2 separate regions of the Homo sapiens genome follow, and region 1 is linked to region 2. The links are contacts of gene promoters, found by promoter capture Hi-C in blood cells and fetal thymus (Javierre and others, 2016). All regions are on one chromosome and are shown on one strand. Each heading gives the region's core, a stretch centred on a gene start or on the middle of the fragment in contact. The rest is flanking DNA. Distances are from core to core; before and after follow the strand shown.

Region 1 (3,089 bases), core at 481-2,980, 3.3 Mb after region 2:
TATTCCTAGGATCTTGCTATTAATCACTATAGGGATAAGTAAAAGTAATATATACAAAATAATTGCATAACAGAATAATATAGGGCAGTTACATAGAATGATTCTTGCTGTTTAATCCTGGAAAATGTGATCCCCGAGGATTCACATTTTAATTTCTGCTCTTTATTTCTGAGGATGGAGTCACCGTTTTCCCCTTCTGGCTACACATTTAGATGCATTTCAGGTCTGATGATAGTTGCAATGTAAAAAAGAATAGCAAGGCCTTTGGTTTCTGTAGACAATTTGGACCAGATAACTTCCAGACTGGGTAATATCCGGTTTATTAGTGTTACTGGATGGGAAGTCTTGACTGAGTTGTCTGGGTTTTTGGCGTGTTGAACAAAGAATTGAACAAAACGTAGAAACAAAGCAACAAAAGAAGCAACGAAAGACAAAACAACAAAAGAACGAAGTAACAAAAGCACAAATTTATTGAAGCGAACCAAGTGCTTCAAGAGTCCCAATTGCAGTGTTCTTAAGGGTTACTAGGCTAAAAGAATTTGGTAAATCCCTAGGTGCCCTTTACAGTCGTCCAATTGGTTGCACCCTATGAAGGATTGGCCTGCGACCAATCAGAGGCTGAAATGGAGATGGCCGAGGACAATCAGAGGCGATGTGGAAACTTCTGTCTTGTAATCACAGGAGTGAAGGTGTGGCCTGTATGCTGCCTAGTCTTGCCTAGAAATTGCTGCACCTGCTGTTCTTTTGCTTATGCCTTAACCCTTGGTTACCCTAATTCCCTATTCTCTTGCCTCATTAGGTCTTTACCCTGACTAAAAATGCACTCATCTAGCTGGGACAAATCCTACACTGCATTTGTCCCATCTAGATGAGTATTCTAGCAGAGTACATGGCACATGAGTAGGCATTCAAAAATTCAACATACAGTACATTTTGTTACCTATGTGCCAGGTGTCGGGCAGGCTGAGTTAACAGCTGAACAGAAACCTACCTACCCAACGTGCTAACTTCTATACAGCATGGTCGTGCATCCAAATCAAATGGAAAGCGGTATGGGAGATCTGGAAAGGCCTCCTGTGGGTGGCATCTGACTACCTAAATTCCCATCCCAGTTTCACTTACTGACTTTGACACTTGGAACAAGCAGCCTCTCAGTGCCTGTTTTCCCACTGGCAGGTAAATGGGCTAATGACGGTATTTCTGGCACTAGACTTCGTTAATTAATGAAAAGCACATAGAAGAAAACAGCCTGGCTCTCTAAGTGGGCAGTGCGATTCCCAAGGACGGCACTTCGCCTGATAGTCTTCCTCTAGGCTGAGAAGCCAGAGTAAATCCATTTGATTTTCCTACCACACAGTGCCTTCTCCCCAGATGAGTTCAAAGCTTTAAGTCTATCCAGTTCTGTCCAGACGCGTCTGTTCATCTCCAACAGGCCCACTAGAGAGGCGGGTTTTCCAAAGCCTGGCACGGCCCACTGCAGGTGACGCCCTCTGCCCTCCAGCGCCCTCAGGCCTCTGGGGTCCACCCTTCCTCCCCACCCGACTCCGGAACCTCTTCCCGCGCCCTGCCCGGGCGCCTGGCTGCTTGGGGTAGAGGCCTTCCGCCACACGCGCGGCCCCGCCCCGGCCTTCACGTGACCTGGCGTGCGGAGCGCGCACGCGGGAACCCGCGCTGGAGGCGGGCGAGGGCCGAGGGGCAGCTAGGGAGCGCGGCTTGAGGAGGGCGGGGCCGCCCCGCAGGCCCGCCAGTGTCCTCAGCTGCCTCCGCGCGCCAAAGTCAAACCCCGACACCCGCCGGCGGGCCGGTGAGCTCACTAGCTGACCCGGCAGGTCAGGATCTGGCTTAGCGGCGCCGCGAGCTCCAGTGCGCGCACCCGTGGCCGCCTCCCAGCCCTCTTTGCCGGACGAGCTCTGGGCCGCCACAAGACTAAGGAATGGCCACCCCGCCCAAGAGAAGCTGCCCGTCTTTCTCAGCCAGCTCTGAGGGGACCCGCATCAAGAAAATCTCCATCGAAGGGAACATCGGTAAGGAGCCTCCGGAAATGTGGGACGCAAGGCTGGGGTGTCGCGGCAGTGGCTGAAGCTTCCCTTCGCCGCATCTCTCTGCAGCAACTCGGTGAGGGCTTTCCCTCCAGCCTGGCGGTGTGGACGCGGCCTCGGCTTCCTTTCCCACCCAGAGCATCCTTCCCTTACCTCCCGCTCCACGGGGTGACTGCGGTCCCCGGGGTCAGACTGGGCGCCAGGCCTGCGGTCTCTGTGAGGCGCGCTTTGAACCTCTGCTCCCTCTTTGTTGGGAACTCGCAAAGGGAAGCGGGGGAAGGGTATTAGATTTCTTGAGGTGTAACTTACATTAAATTCACCCTTTTTAGGTGTACTCTTCTATGAGGTTTGACAAACATTATGCCTTTTGCTATCACCATGATCGAGATACAGAACATTTTCATCACCTTAGAAAGTTCCTACCTGCTCCTTTGTATTCAGCCCCCTCCACCCTTCCTATTCCCTGGCACCCACTGATTTGATTTCTATCCCTGCAAGTGTTGCCTTTTCCAGAATGCCATATAAATGGAATCATAGGCTATATCGCCTTTTGTGTCTGGCGTCTTTCATTTAGCATAATGCTTTTGAAATTCATTCATGTTACTTGTGTCTGTAGTTTGTTTCTTTTTATTGCTGAGTAGTATTCCATTGCATGGATGTACCATCGTTTATCCATTTTCTAGTTGTGGACCTCAGGGTTGTTTACAGTTTTTTAGCTATATTATTAGCGAAGCATTGTTTTAGCTATATTATTAACGAAACTCGAAACATTCGAGTACAAGCAAAGAGGTCTTTAATGATCTTAATAGCATGGAGTTCCTCACCCCTTACTCCACATCCAAGTAAACATTGGATTATGATTCAAAGACCACTAACGTTTCTGTTAACTCAGATGGGGGGCAGACTAGGCCATGCCTGTCACTTTGCAAGATACACACCAACGTCCGATTCTTCTGTATCTCCAACCACAGGAAACCTACCCCTGAAACTTCCTGTTTTGATAGATTTAAAAAAAAATTTTTTTAGCTCCAGGTTGGGTGCTGGTCATTC
Region 2 (3,347 bases), core at 235-2,734:
GCTCACTGCAGCCTCGATCTCTCTAGACTCAAGCGATCCTCTCATCTTAGCCTCCCGAGTAGCTGGGACTACAGGCGTGCATCACCTACGCCCAGCTAATTTTTTTGTATTTTGTAGAGACGCGGTTTCGCCATGTTGCCCAGGCTAGTCTAAGAACTCCTGAGCTCAAGCGACCCGCCTGCTTCGACCTCCCAAAGCGCTGGGATTGCAAGCGTTTGAGCCACTGCGCCCGGCCAAAGTTTTTTATTATCTACTTTCCTATCATTTTATCCCTAGTACACTTTCACTTGCTGTTTTCCTTGCATGGCGGGGGCAATAGGCCTGGTGGGTAAATCTGAATAAAAACGAGAACAGCTGCAGTCTAACTAGCTCTGCCACTTAATGGCGTGACTGGCCCTTTTCAGAAAGTTGTGCCTCACTGGAATGTTTCAAAAATATGTAAAAATAATATGATCTATAAGACAATCAAAAACGCTTCAAATAAGGCGCGGGTTATATTACATAATATCCCTCCACTCTGGCAGTGTTGGCAATGGCAGACAACACCATGAAACTGAAAGCATCCCTTCAGTCTGAAACTGGCGAAAAGGCTACAGGTTTACAAAGTCTCACATCAGCTGAAAATAATACATCCATCAATTCTATCTTTGGCATGGTGTATTCTGACAGTGGTGGATAGAATGTAACCACTTGCTTTATTAATTATGAGATGATTGAAAGAGGAACTACTAACCAAGAAATTGGTAAAGGCCTAGCACAAATATTTTCCCCCTAATTTTACAGGGGCGGGAAAGACCTGAAGAACTTCAAAACCAAGTGGGAAATAAGAATGGGTAACTTGTGTATTTTTTTTTCCTGGCTTTTTTTTTTTCCTTCTTCCGAAGTCAACAAAGGCCTCAGGGTGTCCAGATTGCTACTGATTCATTCTTACCAAGTTCCTTCTGGTAATAGTTTTCAAAAGAGGATCTCAGTGGAGGTGCACAGTGGCGCTCCTAGCTTTCTTTTTACGGAAAGGAGGAAAGGTGCTTGGCACCAGTCGGGGAAGCTCACGCCAAGTGACCGAGACCAGAACTCGCTCTCGACCGGAGCCCCCCAAGTCTGGTGACTTGGAGGAAGGAGGATCCCGAATCCCAGCCAGAACTGAGAAAGCCCTCAAAGGTGCGGAAAGGGGACTTTTCCCTCAGGAAAGCCGGCAACAGCAGAGGCCCTAGCCCACGTCGCCACACCCACTCCGCGCGCGCCCCTCGCCTCCCAGGGCCGGCTCTGCTCGGCCCCGCGGCCTCTCGGGCGCCCCCAGCCCGCCGGAAAGAAAGAAGCAGAAACCCGGAGCCTGGGTCCCACCCGCGACCCCTCACCTTCGCCCTTCTCGTCCTCTCACCTGCCAGTCCCCCAGGAAGAACAGGACGCCTCTTCCCCCTGATGGGCGGCCACAGGCTCGGATCCTTCCATTGCCGCCTGAGACACCGCCGCCGGCTACTGGAAGGTAGGAAGGGGCGGGACCGTGGGGGGGTCAAGGGGCGGGCGGAGACGTCATCAGAGGGGGCGGGCCTGGGGAAGCTAGGAGCCCGGCAGCGCCTTCCCGTCAACCCTAGGGGCGTCCTGGTTTCCGGTTTGGGTGTGGCCGCATGGCGTGCTGTGGTGCAGGTGGCCGAAGGGGGCGTTACTGTTGCGACTGGCATCCGCATCCGGCAGATGTAGATGGAACCAAAGTCCAGAAGTTACGCGTCACCCTTGCTCTACAGCCAAACATGCAGGACTCTAGTAACCCGCGAAATGATGGGATAGCGTTGCAAATCCTTAAAAGAGTCTTAACGGTAAGAAGAGGAAACAGCTTTATTTTATAAATAAACTGAAGGCTGCTAATAGCTCCAGATTGTCAGTGAGGGGATACCACTTAAAGATGTTATACATTTAATAAATAATTTTGGGAGTCCACTACATGTGAGGCGCTGCCTCAGATTTAATAGAATCATGTGACTTTTAGTGCCATAGATGTCGTTAGATCATCCAGTTTGGTCCCTTAAATTTGTGGGTAAGGGAAAGGAACTTCCGGTCAGTGCAAGTGACTTGGTCAAGGTTATAGAGCTAGTCACTGTTAGATTACCAGAACACATATCTAAAAAGTTCTCATATAATTCTTTTTCATTTACTTCCGTGTCACCTTTCTTAGAAAGCAAAAATGAGTTGGACACAATAACATTAGGATTTGTCTTTCACTAAATAACACTGTATATTTGAATAAACATCTGCAGGATTTTTAAAATTAGCATATACTTTGGGTATTATGTAATTTTCTGTGATGTATCATATTTTTAATTAGAAATTTTTCCTCTCATATGGAGATGAGGGTCCAGGCAAAACTGTATTATCCTTCGTGCCCTCTATTCTCTTCAAAATTGCACATCTTAAAATACCTGGAAGCTTTATGTTGCTCACCTATAGCATTATCCGTGTTCCTCAATCCAGTTGTGAACCTTTTCCACATTAAAATGTTCTTGATCTGTGTTCTATTCTTTCAAGGCTCTGCTCTAGCACTAAGATAATGCTACAGGACTGAAGATAATGAAAAAGATTGAAGAAAGCAGAAACAGAACAAAAATCAGATTATTTCAAAGTTTCTTTCCTTGTAAAGGTTAAAACAGAGCATACTTCCTTATTATGCCCACTAGGTTAACTAGAATCTCCTGTTTTTTTAAAAAAAACTGGCTCATTTTTTCAAAATCCACTTTAATTACATGGTGCTTAGCACAAGCAACTCCATTCTGGTTTGATCTGATGGGGCCTAGTGTAGAAGGCTAGGCCAAAACAATGGCCTGCCATTACCCACGCTTCTTCATATTTTAACATCCATGAATAGAGGATGAATTTTTAAAAAATAAATACAGAAAACGATGCATCTTAAAATTGAGGGCATGTTAGATTTGATAAAATATGGTGTGAATTATTTCAGGCATGTAACAAGCAACCAGATTTAACAGATTTTAATGTTTTGTCACATATGTAAAATGGGAAAGAAAACTAGGCGATCACAGCTTTTTGACAGTGAGGCTTTATGTCATAAGAAAGTAGAATGACATATTGAGGAAACTTAAGGGAAAAATATGTAGGCCAAAGATTTTACATTCAGCAAAACTAATATACAAAAGGTACAAACTGTTATCAACAATTGATATATCAATTTGGTGAGACTAGTGTTTTCATGAGCCCCTCCTTAATAATTAATTGGAGAAAGTGTCTGACAATCAGAATTATTACAGAAACATTGATCTAAGGATTGACTCGGTTTCTTTACAGCAAATCATAATCTGTTGCATTTATTAGCTTTTGTGTTTCTTGTAGTTTATTCT

What was found. The method cuts DNA at HindIII sites, captures the fragments that hold promoters and counts their contacts. A CHiCAGO score of 5 or more calls a contact.
Region 1: a fragment that was not itself captured here is called in contact with the fragment with the promoter of UBA6 in region 2 in 1 of 17 cell types (non-activated CD4 T cells); the score reaches 6.7 in non-activated CD4 T cells.

The regions. Positions count from the first base shown.
Region 1 is chr4:70,991,903-70,994,991 of GRCh38, forward strand. It overlaps DCK (deoxycytidine kinase), which reads left to right and starts at 1,747. Exons shown (of 7, transcript NM_000788.3): 1 at 1,747-2,024. The coding sequence starts at 1,934. RefSeq lists a silencer at 1,483-1,822 and an enhancer at 1,993-2,172. The HindIII fragment of the contact is 699 bases long and covers 1,382-2,080 here.
Region 2 is chr4:67,699,671-67,703,017 of GRCh38, forward strand. UBA6 (ubiquitin like modifier activating enzyme 6) reads right to left here and starts at 1,485. Exons shown (of 33, transcript NM_018227.6): 1 at 1,379-1,485. The coding sequence starts at 1,449. It overlaps UBA6-DT (UBA6 divergent transcript), which reads left to right and starts at 1,608. Exons shown (of 2, transcript NR_015439.1): 1 at 1,608-1,814. RefSeq lists silencers at 1,209-1,378, 1,509-1,578. The HindIII fragment of the contact is 4,018 bases long and covers 1-2,419 here.